2 separate regions of the Homo sapiens genome follow, and region 2 is linked to region 1. The links are contacts of gene promoters, found by promoter capture Hi-C in blood cells and fetal thymus (Javierre and others, 2016). All regions are on one chromosome and are shown on one strand. The core of a region is centred on a gene start or on the middle of the fragment in contact, and the rest is flanking DNA. Distances in the headings are between cores, read along the strand shown. Region 1 holds the start of DNAJC11 (DnaJ heat shock protein family (Hsp40) member C11). Region 2 overlaps CAMTA1 (calmodulin binding transcription activator 1).

The links. The method cuts DNA at HindIII sites, captures the fragments that hold promoters and counts their contacts. A CHiCAGO score of 5 or more calls a contact.
Region 2: a contact is called between a fragment that was not itself captured here and the fragment with the promoter of DNAJC11 in region 1, in 1 of 17 cell types (megakaryocytes). The highest score is 7.0, in megakaryocytes.

What each region holds. Positions count from the first base shown.
Region 1 is chr1:6,700,141-6,703,274 of GRCh38, reverse strand. DNAJC11 (DnaJ heat shock protein family (Hsp40) member C11) reads left to right here and starts at 1,459. Exons shown (of 16, transcript NM_018198.4): 1 at 1,459-1,546. The coding sequence starts at 1,475. RefSeq lists a silencer at 1,223-1,672. The HindIII fragment of the contact is 16,969 bases long and covers 1-3,134 here.
Region 2 is chr1:7,220,890-7,224,023 of GRCh38, reverse strand. The region is part of intron 4 of CAMTA1 (calmodulin binding transcription activator 1); the gene reads right to left. Among named protein-coding and RNA genes, the nearest start is that of CAMTA1-IT1, 140 kb to the left of the region's middle. The HindIII fragment of the contact is 1,754 bases long and covers 537-2,290 here.

The sequences.
Region 1 (3,134 bases), core at 210-2,709:
TCAGGCTGACTCAACCCACCCGAACAATCTGTCTCAGCACACCGAAGTGTCTCATGCCAAAAGATCCTAAGAGGGCTGGGCAACTTGGAAGGGATGAGACACAGGCCCAGATGGTGCACATCTGGCCAAAAATTAGAAAGAGAAAGAAATCAGCCTCTCAAATCCACAGACAGGTGTTCGGGGCTTCCCAGGAGACCTGCTTATGAAGGGCAACGGGGATGGCTATGGACTGGTGGTTAGTGAAGGAACAACAAAGGTTTCTGAGACTTGCGCAGGTCAGCGGGAACCAAACAGGTGGCAAGAGTGGGCTGCTGTCCACCTTCCCTTGACAATGGCGTCATTTCGAAGACCTTTAAATTATTTAGATTGTTGTAACCAAGACATCTTTAATAATGCACCAAACAGCAGGCACCAGGTTGAAATCAATTAGACTCCACCGATAAATTATAAGGGAGAAATTTACAGGAGAATGGCTCTGGGGTAGGGACTGCAGGTACACATGCCTGCCAGAGACAATTATATCAGGAACCAAATAGTTATTGCTTTGTCATTTAAGCAGCAGAAAAGATGGCCAGGTGCTCCTAAATTAGAGCAATAACAAATAACTAAAATGAGGAGGCCTGTTCTGGGCAGGAAGGCTTCTGGGTGGCCAAGAGAAAAGACAATGGAGGTAGGAACAAATGTCATTTGGGGGATATCTAGGATCCGGATGCACCCTGCACTGGGGGCACCTCGCGCTTCTTCCAGGAGTTTGGGGCCAGTGGGGTAACAGGTGGTATCACAGGGGTTTGTCTCCCAGAGGATGACAATCTCCTGGAGGTGACTTCAAAGTTTCCCTTTCTAGGCAGGACGCGGTGGCTCATGCCTGTAATCCCAGCACTTTGGGAGGCCGAGGATCTCCTGAGTTCAGGAGCCTCAGACCAGCCTGGCCAACATGGTGAAACCGTGTCTCTACCAAAAATACAAAAAAATTAACTGGGCGTGGTGGCGCGCGCCTGGAGTCCCAGCTACTCGGGAGGCTGAGGCAGGAGAATCGCTTGAACCCGGGAGGTGGAGGCTTCAGTGAGCCGGGATTGCGCCACTGCACACACACCAGGCTGGGCGACAGAGTATGACTCCGTCTCAAAAAAAAAAAAAAAAAGCAAAGTTTCCCTTTCTAGTACAGGAAAAGCCCTAGGGAGTCCTGGCTGGATCTCAGGCCCCCGAGGACGCAGCCACGCCGCGTGCCACGCGTCCATTGGGAGCACGAAGAGACACCCGCGTGGTCACCCCGCCAGGGCTGCCTAGGCGCCGCGTCCCGCCCTAGGCCGCGCGGGGGCGCAAAGCGCAGGCGCACTCCCGCCGGGCGCGGACGGCTCCGGGCCGCCAGGGGCCGCTGTGGCGCAGCCGGGCTGGCCCGCGCTGTCCCTGACGCGGATCACTGGCCCCTCTTGAGCACGGCCTTGCCGGTTTGGCGGGGTGAAAGGTTGCGAAGATGGCGACGGCCTTGAGCGAGGAGGAGCTGGACAATGAAGACTATTACTCGTTGCTGAACGTGCGCAGGGAGGTGAGGCCAGCGGCTGGACGCTCTGGGGGCTGAGGCCGAGCCCGGTCGTTCGGGAGGGCCGGGCTGGCGGTGGCCGCCCCACCCCCGCCACGGGAGGCTCGGGTCCGTCGGGGAGGCCGCGTGACCCCGGCGACGTGCACGCCAGCCGCCCGATGGAGGCGTCCCCACCGCCCAGACCCTCCCGCCGGGGGTTCCGGGGCCAGCCTCCGCCCCAGCTCCTGAAGGCCAGTGCGCCGCGTGCACTGTGTCCGGGTAGGGCCAGAGGCCCCCGCACGCTCAAGAGGAAACGGGGGCCCCGAGGAGGCCACCGTAGTGGGGTTAGCAGTCCTCCGAGACCCCGTCTCGCGCTCAGCCCACATACTCGTCCTGGCTGAGGGGCTGTGTCATCGCCCGCCGCCAGCAGGATGGCGAACTGAGTCTCACCCACCAAGGTCAAGGCCACTAGGGAACGTCCTTAGGGCTTTTTCCGGTTCCCGAGTCTTTCGTGGGGACGCTCTGCCTCTGAAGTGGGTCCAGCCTCAGAGGCATGCGTCTCATGCCCTCTTTCATTCCCCTGGACCCGATGTCCAGAAATTGCAGGCAGAGCCTCCGGGACACAGACCCTCGGCTCGGAGGCTGCAGATTAGGAAGAAGCCCTAGGCCAGAAAAGTGGTGCCCTAACAACAGCTTCAACATTCACACCAAGCACTTGTACCCTGTCTCCTCAACGAATAAAAGATAACATGAGAGAGTCTCACATAGCCTGGCAGTAGTAGGGCCCCACTACACTCCTTTGTTCTTGACTAGTCTGGAGTTGAGATAGGTGTGAAGGGCGAGAAGGCTTCCAGGGTCAGGTCATGAGGTGGATCAGTTTCTTTAAGCCGATGGGTCCAGACTTTTCAGCCCTGCCAGAGAATTCCTAATTCCATCTCTCAGGTTTTCCAGTGGTAATGAAAGCTAGCCAAGTTTGGCTATGCTAACCAAAGCGGGTTCAGTGTGTGTTGTCAGTAAATATTAGTCTATGTGATGTTAATAATACAAACTTATCTTGTGTGGGACCACTATGCTGAATGAACTTTGTACTGTTATCTCATTTAATTCTGAGGATAGCTCTTAAGGTAAGTATTATGATAGCCCTTGATTTACACTTGAGGAAACCAAGGCATAGAGAGATTAAGTAGTGTGTCTAAAGTCACACTACTAGAAAGTGCAAGAGCCTGAACTCAACCCAGGCAGTCTGACTCTGGAGCCCAGCTTGTGAGCTCCATGCTAGTCTGTCACCTTACCTTACCAGTCCTTGGACTACAAAGCTGCTAGTTCTGGTACTGTATCCTTGAGTGTCACGCGCGTCCGTGTGAAGAGACCACCAAACAGGCTTTGTGTGAGCAATAAACCTTTTTAATCACCTGGGTGCGTATGGGCTGAGTCCGAAAAGAGAGTCAGCAAAGGGTGGTGGGATTATCATTAGTTCTTATAGGTTTGGGATAGGCGGTGGAGTTAGGAGCAATTTTTTGTGGGCAGGGGGTGGATCTCACAAAGTACATTCTCAAGAGTGGGGAGAATATTACAAAGTACCTTCTTAAGGGCGGAATATCACAAAGTACATTAT
Region 2 (3,134 bases), core at 164-2,663, 520 kb before region 1:
CCCAGAAGATCTCTGGTCATCTGGGGTGATCGAGTTATTCAGCAATCTTCCACCCCGCCCTCTAACAACTGCAGTGAAGATGGGATGATACCTTCGTTAAATATCCCATAGGCCCCAAGGTAAACCTGAGAACTAATAAATACATGTAAATACATCTAATAAAATAAAATTTGAGATTAAAAGGAATCTCGCTTGCATATTCATGAACCACGTGGAAACTCAAATGAGCTCTTCTAAGCTCCTTATTCATGGTGAGTCAGAGATTTAACACATGCTGGGAAGATTGCTTAGCAAATATAAGCCTGGCAATGGCACATGCATCCATGAATTCATCGGACAAGTATTTATTAACTGTCCCTTTGCATTACTATTTATGTTGCATATTCATCCCTCTTTGCAAACCCAGGGCCTCATATAAATGGCAGGCACTCACCTGTTGACGATGCTGGTGTTCTGAGGCCCTAGAAAGCACAACCCCTGGCCTCAGGTTGCTTATATCTGCTCAAGGAGGTAAGAGTCACTTCCTCTATGAAGCTTTCCTGACCCCTCAGGACCCTGTTAGGTGACCCTAGTATCCATTTCTCAAGACTCTCCCTGTTAGCACCTACCTCCCATCACACACTCACACACACATACACACACGCATGCATACACTCACACACATACGCACACAATCACACATACACATACTCACACGCACATGCACCTGTTCCATTGTCTCTATCCTCTCCTGCACTAAGTTTAGGGTAGGGAGACACTGAATCTGCTTTGCTCACCCTAGCCTGACATACACATGTAGGAAACATTCAGTACATCACTGGATGAATGAAGCAAGAAATGAATGGTTGGATGGGTGGGTGGGTGGGTGGGTGGGTGGATCAACAGGTAAGTAAAGGCAAGGCAAAGGCCTAAGTTGTGGCCCAAGGAAAGATGTATGAGGGGGTGGCCCGCAAGGGCGAGAGGAACAAGAGCGTTGGTCATCAAGGGAAGAAGATCAAGAAAAAAAGGTTTGAGATCTTAAGGACAGTGAAGACTTGGCATTGGGTGAGTTGGTATTTTCTGGTCATTTCTGTGCCACACAGGGTGCCGGGCACCTCATGAGCATCACCCCGGATCCTCACAGCTGCACCTGAGGCAGATATACCCACGTAGAAGAGGAAGCTAGGCTTAGCAGGATAAGCTGGCACCACTGCAGAGCTGGCACGCGGCGAAGCCAGGATTGGAGACCAAGTGGGCCTGACCCAAGCTCTCTCCATGAAGACCAATGGGCATCCTCTGGCCCAGGGACCATTGCCATCAGGTGGGACCGTTGCCATCAGGAAAGAAGAGAGCGTGCTCCAGGAGGCAGCTCTGGGCAGTGCAGAGGGATGAAACAATCAATATGGTGGCTGGGCCCCTTGGAACAAAGAGAAAGGGCTGGGGCTGTCTAGGGAGGACTCAGGACTCATGACCCACTCCTGCCCACAGAAACATAACTCACTCTCCGCCTGAGCACAGCCACTATGTCATGGGGTGATGTAGAGCCAGGGAGGGAGGCAAGGACACGTTCCTAAATAATATCCTATTTTGTAGTCAACAGTCAGGCAAGAGGAAGGGAGAAAGAGGAGGGCAGGAAGACAGCGAGATGCAGAAAGGATTGAATGTTCCATGAGGATCAAATCTCAGCCTCCCCGCAGGTGCATTGAGACAGAAGACGCAGGTCCTCACAGCCAGAGGTGCTCATGGAACCAGCCCGGGCGATGTCTCATCACCCAGACGAGCACAGAAAAAGACAGGCTTGCAGGGTCCCACGGCCTGTCTGACACAATGCTCATGGGGTTTTCTCAAAAGCATCATCTATTTAGCTGATGGCCCCAAAGTGTTTCATTTAGCTGGAAATCGTGCTTGGTCCATTTCCCAGATCTCAGTGACATTATGAGAAGCCAGCAAAATGTGTCTGGCAGCAGAGCAGTTCAGCAACCCATCACCTCGAGTCACAGTCCTGTCGCCCCTGTTTGGAAAGCAGACAGTTCAGACGACTTCTAGAAGGCAGAGTCACTGCTGCCTCCCAGGCAACCGAGGACTACAGGAAGCCTGTGTGTGTGTGTGTGTGTGTATGTGTGTGTGTGTGTGTGTGTATGCACCAGCTTGTGCACATGCCCTCTGAAGGAAGGCAGGGGTCACCCATGGCACAAGGCAGTCACCATCCTCCCTGACCATGGGATAAAACTTTGCCATTCCTTTATCTTATTTAATCTTCCCACTAGGCAGGAATCATTATCCCCAAACTATTTCTGAGAAAGCCAAAGCTTAGCCGGTTCATGTGGCCCCAGCCCCACAGCCAGCAAGAAGCAGGGCTGAGACTGTAATTCAGCACTGTCTGAATCCAAAGGCCAGGCTCACACTGAGACCCCAGCGTTCCCCACCCCATTCCACGGGCCTGGAGAGGTGTTTCACGACGCATTCACTGGTCTGCCTGGTACCATATAAAGAAGAATCAAGTCCCATCACCAAAGAAATTTGCAGAATTCTCAGTGAACACAATGGAACAGGTCTGATTCTGGAGGGACTTCCTGGAGGCCTTCAAAGGCTAATGCACACTATGGAAACCCAAAAGCCGGAGCAATGGCTCTGCTCGTGAAAGCCCCCGAAGGCAAGACTCTGGGTGTGTTACCAACTCTCCGAGTCTCACACAGTCTCTGGCACAAGGTAGGAGAGTGCAATACCCATCAAGTGCTTGAGTGAATGAATGATGAATGAATGAACAAGTAACTAAATGCTGTGAATGAGAGTTCTGTCTAAAGATTAAAAAAAAAAAAAAGAATAAGGCTCTGGGGAAAAGGCCCCAGCATCTCTGCTGTCATGGAGTATTCCTGCTGCCTAAGGTCCTCTCATAGAACCCGGCCCTTCCTGCACTGCCTCCAGCGTTCCAGGGGATGGGTTCTGAGAAAGCCGGGCCATTCATCTGTGCTGGTGCCGTGCCGGCCTTCGGTGCTTGCTGCCCTGGCTCTCCCACCTGGTGGGCTCTAGGAGGAATTCCCCGTGAGGGCACAGCAGAAGCTGACTGACAACCAGGTGGGAGGGAGACCTCCTGGGCCCAGCTGGAGGGCCCTAGGGAGCGGGAGGCAGGAGACAGGACCTCAGTGACCCTGGAG